Regions from separate parts of the Homo sapiens genome. Here all the other regions are linked to region 1. Evidence: promoter capture Hi-C in human tissues and cell types (Jung and others, 2019). All regions are on one chromosome and are shown on one strand. The core of a region is centred on a gene start or on the middle of the fragment in contact, and the rest is flanking DNA. Distances in the headings are between cores, read along the strand shown.

Region 1 (2,778 bases), core at 135-2,634:
GCTAAAGGATTGTAAATGCGCCAATCAGCACTCTGTAAAAACCCACCAATCAGCGCTCTGTGTCTAGCTAAAGGATTATAATGCACCAATAAGCACTCTGTGTCTACCTAGGGATTGTAAATGCACCAGTCAGTGCTCTGTAAAAACGCACCAATCAGCGCTCTGTGTCTAGCTAAAGGATTGTAAATGCACCAATCTGCACTCTGTAAAAATGCACCAATCAGCACTCTGTGTCTAGCTAAAGGACTGTAAATGCACCAATCAGCACTCTGTAAAATGGACCAGTCAGTGCTCTGTAACAGGGGACAAATAAGGGAATAAAAGCTGGCCATCCCCCAGTCAACAGTGGCAACCCACTCAGGTCCCCTTCCATGATGTGGGAGCTTTGTTCTTTTGCTCTTCACAATAAATCCTGCTGCTGCTCACTCTCTGGGTCCGTGCTACCTTTAAGAGCTGTAACACTCACCGTGAAGTCAGTGAGACCAAGAACCCACCTGAAGGAACCAACTCCAGACACAGGATTACAGGCCTGAGCCACCGTGCCCGACTTTGTTTTTTTTTAATTAAATAGGCAAGAATACAAAATAACAGAGTGCATTACAGGAGGTAAAGGTACTTACTGTGAAACTTTGGTTTTGGTTTCATGGGTAACTGGGCCATGGTATAAAATACATTTTTTTATCGTAGGGTCACAGTCAAAACATTTCAAAGGCCGTGGGTCTATGGTGTACAGTATAGTACGATTACAACAATGTAAAATACTGTGTGTGAGGCCAAGCCTGGGAGGAATAAACAGAAGCAAAGAGGAACTGATAAAGTTGGTAGAATAAAGGATGCTGCTTCTCAGTTATATGTTTTCTGTGATGTTTGTAGGTTGTTCTTACAATAAAACAAACCAAAAAAAAAAAAAAAAAGAAGTCAAGACACAAAGGAGAAATAACAATAGAGGGCCATTATCAGATTCCATTGGCCGAGAAGCTCAAGGCTCCAGCACCGGCCTTGAAGGATGGACAGACTTTGAATGGGGGGCGTGGCCTAAACAGGGACGGGGTTGTTGCTGAAACACAAAACACACTGAAAGAGAACATGGGGTTAAAAAAGGCTCTCAGTGATGCAAAGCGGCTTAAAACTGGGGAAGAAAGGGGCAGGTCTACTCCCGGGCTGTACATTCTGCCTCCCTGTACCGACTTTTCCACCCTCCACCCATCTAGGCTGAGGTCTCAAGCTAGAGGTTGCCCCTCATAAACATGTCCGCACCAAGCCGGCCGCGCCCCTCAACAAGATGGCGACGGCAGCAGCCCCACCTCCCGCTGACTCGGTGGCCAATGAGGGAGAAGCACGAAGACTTGAGCATGCGCACATAGCGACTTGGTGGGCGCGTCCAGTGATGACTGGGGGATCCCGGCAAGTAACATGACTAAAAAGAAGCGGGAGAATCTGGGCGTCGCTCTAGAGGTGAGGGGAAAAGTGGGGGTTGGGCCACCTCGTTAGTTGCCTTCTCCTGGCCGCGGGATAAGGGATAGGCTGGGCTATAGATAGGAGGAGGAGCCAAGCGTAGGATGAGAGGGCGACGCGGTTTGGGGAGAGGGACGGGAGGGGTGAGAAGGCCCACGGGGTTCCCGGAGGACAGGGAGCCCGAGGAGGTGCCGGATGGGCGAACCAGACTCTCTGGAGAGGGCATCTCCAGAGAGGAAGAGACATGGAAGTGAAGGGGAGCCCCAAAGACGGCCTGGCATAGAAGTGAGGGAACTCAAAGCGGGGGACACAGAACAAAAGGGATGGGTACAGAGGTGAGGGAGACCCCAGAGAAATAGGGACCTGTAGAATCTAAGGAGAACTCCCAAAGGGCTAGGACTCAAAGATGAGGGAGCCCATTCTGGTGTATATTATTAATGGTTTAAATATCCTCTAAAAGGGGAAATTTTTCCTCCGGAGTATGGAAGCTTGTACCTTCAAAATTACTTTGGGAATATGTAAAGAGAATTCTGGAATTGGTGATGTCACTGAATGGCTTAAAAATAATTTGCTGCATATAGAAGGGAAAGAAAACATACATACTGAGCAACCGCTATGTGCTACTTTCATTGCATTGTTAATCCTCACTGCAAGCCTGTGAGGTTTGTACAGATGAGGAAATTGAGGTTCCAGGTGGAACCCAGGCTGAGATGGTGGAAGTGGTGGAGCCTGGGAATCAAGCACAGGTGGTCTTCCTGGAAATTCATCTTGCTTCCCCTGTTTTCCTTCCCTTAGGGCATCCTCCCGGAGGTTGCAGGAGAGGTACAGGGTCATAGTCTTCTTCAGGCTTACTAGTGAGTTCAGTGATTCTCAAACTTTAGCATGCATAGAGTCACAGGGCTTGTTAAAAATGGAGAGTTGAACTCTTCCCACACCCCGAGTAATTCAGTAGGACTTTGATGTGCATTCTTAACAAGGAATCTGCTTTTTTTTTTTTAAGACAGAGTCTCGCTCTGTTGTCCAGGCTGAAGTGCAGTGGCGTGATCTCGGCTCACTGTAAACTCTGCCTTCTGGGTTCAAGCGATTCTCGTGCCTCAGCCTCCCGAGTAGCTGGGATTACAGGCACGTGCCACCATGCCTGGCTAATTTTTGTATTTTTGTAGAGACGGGGTTTCACCGTGTTGGCCAGGCTGGTCTTGAACTCTTGACCTCAAGTGATCTGCCCGCCCGCCTTAGCCTCCCAAAGTGCTGGGATTACAGGCATGAGCCACCACAGCCGGCCAGAATCTGCATTTTTTTTTTTTTTACAAGCCACACACACCC
Region 2 (2,907 bases), core at 160-2,659, 46 kb after region 1:
AGATGATATTGTACTCAATCAGATCAACTTCCTCAGAGTCAAAACTCTTATCCTTTTCCATGTTTTTCTCTTTCCAGTGGCGAGTACAGCAGCACTGCACACTCAATGGAAATTAGACAAATGATGTCTAATTTCCTCAGCTAGGACTGAAACTTAGAGATCTACCTTCAGTTGTCTTCTGCAATGCTTCACAGACAATGTATTCTTGTCTCAACAACATTCCCAGGCACTCGAACCCCTGACATAATGTAACAGTTTATAATATGCTTCCATATACTCCAAGGATCTAAATTTCCCTCCGTCCTTTGTCTCTTCCAGTTCTTGCTTATAGCTTCTTTATTTTCCTCCCCTTGCCCCCTTTCTCCTTTACCATAACCTGCAGCACCACAGACCTACTTAAAAACTTCAGAGTTGGCTGGGCGCGGTAGCTCACGCGTGCAATCCCAACACTTTGGGAGGCCAAGGCAGGCGGATCACCTTAGGTCGGGAGTTTAATACCAGCCTGACGTGGAGAAACCCCGTCTCCACTAAAAATACAAAATTAGCCAGACATGGTGGCACATGCCTGTAATCCCAGTACTTGGGAGGCTGAGGCAGGAGAATCACGTGAACCCGAGAGGCGGAGGTTGAGGTGAGCTGAGATCGCGCCATCGCACTCCAGCCTGGGCAACAACAGCGAAACTCCGTCTCGAAAAAAAAAAAAAACTTCAGTCTGCTCTCTCCATCACTTGTCATCACCTCTTAACATCTTCACATTCCAAGCTTCAAATTCTCCTGCTCTTAGTCTATAATTTGCCTGATCCAAGAGCCATTATGACCCTAGCAAACATGGGTGTGTGCCTGGGCCTTCAGCCACTCCCTCTTCTGCTGGGGACTGCTCTAGTGTCTCTGCTGGCCTGAAAACCACACCAAGCCTGTGGGGCTTGGCTGTAACTCTGGTCCTCAGGGGAAAACGGAAATGAAAAGAGAAAATAAAACACCAGGGGCTCGAGAGAAATCACTTTTTTTATAGTGAAGCATAGAGAAACATCTCTGAAAGGGCAATTCTCCGTGGCCACTAACAATCAATTCAGGTCAAGAAGCTGCCTGAAGCATTACAAACACGGCTGCCTTTTCCTATGTAACTAACACCTCTACCCTCAACCTGAATGGTACAACCCTGGTGCCTACTTCATTTTCATGACAGCAAAAGGCAATAACCAGATACCAGCTGCTGGAGGCATTTGTATACAAAAGCCAAAAAAGACACTGTGACTTCCCATCAGCTTGACAGAGCTCCTCTGCCAGGCAGGGGTTTAAAGGAAATCATTTGGAGCTCAGAAAATTAAATCAACATTATATCAACCTAATTTTCTCAAGATGCTAATTCCAAGAGCCCTTTTGTGCTGCCTGCTGGTACTGGAGAATGGGAAGGGAGACCTGGGAGTGAAAAATGAGTAATGGCTGGAGGGGCTACATGCCAGTTTTGCCAGCAAGGAGGAAGCAGTTAGGTAGGTGGAGCTGAAACATTAAAGAACTTGGAAAACAAGTTTCTTTAGCCAGTGGATAATCAGGGGGTCTAGTGGAATGAGGGTGAGTGAAGCAGAAACAGGTTTGGGGATAGCTGGCTCCTGGCCCTATCACTGTCAAAGAAAAGTAACTTTCTAGGACCGGGTAAAAATGCTTTGAAACCCTGAAGGGAATTCTAGAATGAAATTTCCTTTTTTTCTTTCTCTATCACTATGGCGAGTCTATGTTCAGAGAAATGAGATGCAGCAGAGTAGAAACTCACTTTGCTTTACCACTTCTTGAAAAGGGCCAAAGCCTTATAATTATGATCCCACGCAAAGCTTGTTCAGAGAGGCAGAGAAGGAAAGTGGCCCAGTCTAAAATTACAGTCTTAGTGCTGGGACAAATCTTAAGAGCCTTTTGGTTCTACCCTAGCCCTCTGGCAGGTTAGTACGGCTCATTTCAGAATGAGGGAGCTGAGGCCCAAAGAAGGTATAAACTTAAGTAATCCATCCTGCTTCATAAATGCTATGTCATGTCCCTCCTCACCACATTCCAACAACACAGGCTAGATTTTCAGATACAACACTGATTTTAAATAGATCAATGAAAATGCCCACTGAAATGCCCACATTTCATCCAACACTCAAACCATATTCCCCTCTCATTACCAGAAACAGCACCCAAATCAGGTGATGTCACCAAGTTTCAATTTGGAAAATAAGCTTGCTATATAAAAACAGTATTCACCCTTCCACTCTACCTTCTGTAGGGTTAGTGGCTCGGATTCCAGGACTGAAGCCCTGAAGACAACTGCTTCACTCCTGGGACCACAGAAGCACTGTGGGACCCTATCTGAGGAGCTCAAAGCAAAGTATCTCCATCACACAGTCAGAATACTCTCCTAGCATTGAACAAATGGCAATGGCTGAGCCACTGAAACTTAAGCCCTCTTAGCACCATGAATTCAGAAGCAGAATCTTGTTCTCACCCCATAAGAGTCCCGCGGATTTGTGAACATGCGATCAAATACAAAATCCATGTTAGCCATCTTCATTGCTGCCCTGCAATAAAGCAAGACAGAAAAGTACTAGATGTACTAGGCTCAATTGAAAAGGTAGAGCAGGGAGCATCAGGGGAGGGGAGGGAAATGTCAGCAAACCTGTTTAGAAAGAAGACTCCTCGGATCATCTCATAGGGATTGGCCCGAGTCCGAGCTCGCCGCATCTCTTCCCCATCCAAGACATCAAACACGCTCTGCCCAGAGAATCAGAACCTCAAGGTGAATTCCAGGATAGGAAAGGGACCTTAAGACCCTGCAGTGCCCAACTCACAGCCCTCCAAGGAACAAGATTCCTGTGGCATCTCAGCTCTGAAATGTCTCACTGTGTGACCCTACACAGGCTGCTCAATAACTCT
Region 3 (3,029 bases), core at 486-2,985, 63 kb after region 1:
TTAGCAGAGGAGGAAAAAATAAGGTCCACACAGACAGAAATAGTAACTACTGTTTTGTTTTTCTAATTGTCCTCCCTAAAGAGCATTTTTCAATCATCTACCTGAACATTATGTTCAGGTAGAAGTGGCTGCAGTAAATGGAAACACCTCTGCTTTAATAGAATGATTTGAATAGGAAAGCTGCATATACATTTCAGGGGATATGTAGACAGCAAACCACCAGGGTATACTGTCCGGGGGACACCTAAGAGAATTAGATACAGAACATAGGTGATATAAATGCTAAGTACTTAATGAAATGATCTTCTGCAGACTGGAGGAGACAGGCAAAATGAAAACTGTGACGCATTTTAAGCTTCTTGGAAAAGATACTATTGTTGCCTTTTATCAGTTCTATTCAGTAACTATTTACTGAGCTTTTGCTCCAGGCTAGGCATGGTGGGAAAGAAGGCACAGGGAGCAGTCTTGCTGATAAAGATACTGCCCTCAGTTTCTGTGTCAATGCAGAGCTGCCCCTTCCTAAAATAAATTAACCTAGGGAAATCTAGAAATGTTGGTTTGCCTCTGCCTCCCATCTCATTTTCTGCAAATGAAAGGACGAAGTGGCCTCTTGCCAGACACATACAAGGAACTGGACACCTCTGGATTTCCATTCTTTTTTTTTTCTTTTTGAGATAGGGTCTTGTTCTGATGCCCAGGCTGGAGTGCAGTGGCATAATCTTGGCTCAGTGCAACCTCTACCTCCTAGGCTCAAGTGATCCTCCCACCTCAGTCTCCCGAGTAGCTGGGTCTACAGGTGCATGCCACCATGCCCAGCTAATATCTGTATTTTTTGCAGAGGTGGGTTTTCACCATGTTCCCCAGGCTGGTCTCAAACTCCTGGGCTCAAGCAATCCGCCCACCTTGACCTCCGAAAGTATTAGAATTACAGGCATAAGCCGCCATGCCCAGCCTGGATTTCCATTCTACACACACAACAGCAATAGTCAATCCTGACTGAGTCATATAGTACCACTTCCAGAGAAGGGGGAAGAGTAATCTCAATTCAGTCACAAAAGCTTGAAATTTAAATCAGAACGGTTTCCTTGAAGGATCCTTACCCTTATACACTTACCTTCTTTTACCTGGGACTTGTCCTTTCCTTACTTCAAAGAGATGTTACTTGAGAGCAAATGTCCCCCAAGATCCACTTAGAACCAGATATCACTTGTTCCCCAGACATACTCTCTCTTTTTCCCTTACAAGCCATCTCTCCCAATACCCCTACCCAAGGAGATTCTATCTTCACCAAGCTGCTCAAATTCCAGGTGAGAGGTAAAATTCCCTTTCCTCAAGAATCTCCAGAACCATCGCGTGCAGTAAGTTTTTGCCTTCTTACTCAGGAACTTCAATTCCTACCTACCCTGGAATCTACTGTGACTTTGAAGCAGAGGTGTCCAATCTTTTGGCGTCCTTGGGCCACACTGGAAGAATTGTCTTGGGCCACACATAAAATACACTAACAACAGCTGATGAGCTTTTTTTTTTTTTTTTTGAGACGGACTCTTGCTCCGTGTAGTGCAGTGGCACAATCTCGGCTCACTGCAAGCTCTGCCTCCCGGGTTCACGCCATTCTCCTGCCTCAGCCTCCCGAGTAGCTGGGAGTACAGGCGCCTGCCACCACGCCCGGCTACTTTTTTCTGTTTTTTAGTAGAGATGGGGTTTCACTGTGTTAGCCAGGATGGTCTCGATCTCCTGACCTCGTGATCCGCCCACCTTAGCCTCCCAAAGTGCCGGGATTACAACTGTGAGCCACCGCGCCTGGCCAGCTGATGAGCTTTAAAAAAAAAAAAAAAATCCCCCAAAAATCTCATAATGTTTTAAGAAAGTTTACAAATTTATGTTGGGTCCCATTCAAAGCAATCCTGGGCCACAGGTTGGACAAGCTTGCTTTAAAGGCGTGAACACCTCCACATACAAAGCTGCAACTGACTCTCTTATCTAGCCTGGACTACAGCGACACCGATGCTCCATTCGCTGTACCACCTGTCAAGCTTCTCTCTGGACCAGCTTCTCAGTAGCAGCTGATGAGTAACTGCCCTTCAATAAGCTTATCACTTGTGAATAAACTGTATTTCCTACTACCTTCAAAGGGTGCTTCACACCCTTTCAGTCACCAATCTGTTATGAAATTTCATTCCAGTTTCCCAGTGATCCAACAGAGGATCCAATATGCAAGCCTGCTGGTGTGCTGGGTTGAATATGGTATCCTCCCCAAAGCCTGTAAATGTGACCTAATTTGGAAATAGGGTCTTTCCAGATTACATCAAATGTAATACTAGATTACAGTGGGCCCTATCCAATGACCGATGTCCTTATAAGAAGAGGGAAATTTGGATACAGACACACACAGAGGAAAGGTAGAGGCAGAGATTGGAGTTATGCTACCACAAGCCAAGGAACACCAAGGAATGCTAGCAGCCAGCAGAAGCTAGAAGTGGTAAGGAAGGTCTTCCCAAGAGCCTTTGAGGGAACATGGCCCCACCAACACTTTGATTTTGGACTACTAGCCTCCAGAGCTGTGAGAGAATAAATGTCTGTTGTTTTGGGTCACCCAGTTTGTAGTAATTTGTTACAGTAGCCCTAAGAAACTAATACAGCTGGCAAGTCAAGGTAAATGCAAATTTACCTTGAGGTATTTGAGGCAAGCTCCCAGACATTTTACCATTCCTCAGAAAGCATCTATGGAAACTGTGAATAACCCTAAAAGACAGGCAAAGCAAAATGCTAGTTTCAACCAGATTAGTGAAATCTTCGACGCTTAATGCAAACAGTGAACGCAGCAATGCTCCAGTAGTTGGATACTTCTGACCACAACCGCTGAAGGAATTGAGAAAACGGTATGCATGCAAAAAAAGTGAAAATTAGGCTCGACGGCCGCAGCAAAGAGGCCCTCCCTTACAAAAGAGCCCCAGGATAATTAACAGCTATTAAGGGCACACAGCACTCAATGCTCACCACTACTTCTAACTGGTTTAAGGCAGCAAGAG

Evidence for each region. The method cuts DNA at HindIII sites, captures the fragments that hold promoters and counts their contacts. A contact is called where the count stands out against the background at its distance.
Region 2: a fragment that was not itself captured here is called in contact with the fragment with the promoter of CCDC167 in region 1 in 2 of the 25 tissues and cell types used here (IMR-90 fibroblasts and mesenchymal stem cells).
Region 3: a fragment that was not itself captured here is called in contact with the fragment with the promoter of CCDC167 in region 1 in 6 of the 25 tissues and cell types used here (IMR-90 fibroblasts, aorta, dorsolateral prefrontal cortex and 3 more).

The regions. Positions count from the first base shown.
Region 1 is chr6:37,498,499-37,501,276 of GRCh38, reverse strand. CCDC167 (coiled-coil domain containing 167) reads left to right here and starts at 1,384. Exons shown (of 4, transcript NM_138493.3): 1 at 1,384-1,455. The coding sequence starts at 1,414. RefSeq lists an enhancer at 1,192-1,391. The HindIII fragment of the contact is 4,936 bases long and covers 1-2,778 here.
Region 2 is chr6:37,452,885-37,455,791 of GRCh38, reverse strand. It overlaps CMTR1 (cap methyltransferase 1), which reads right to left. Exons shown (of 24, transcript NM_015050.3): 7 at 2,651-2,745; 8 at 2,480-2,552. Among named protein-coding and RNA genes, the nearest start is that of CMTR1, 21 kb to the right of the region's middle. The HindIII fragment of the contact is 3,738 bases long and covers 1-2,907 here.
Region 3 is chr6:37,436,022-37,439,050 of GRCh38, reverse strand. All of the region lies in intron 2 of CMTR1 (cap methyltransferase 1), which reads right to left. Among named protein-coding and RNA genes, the nearest start is that of CMTR1, 4.3 kb to the right of the region's middle. The HindIII fragment of the contact is 3,637 bases long and covers 1-3,029 here.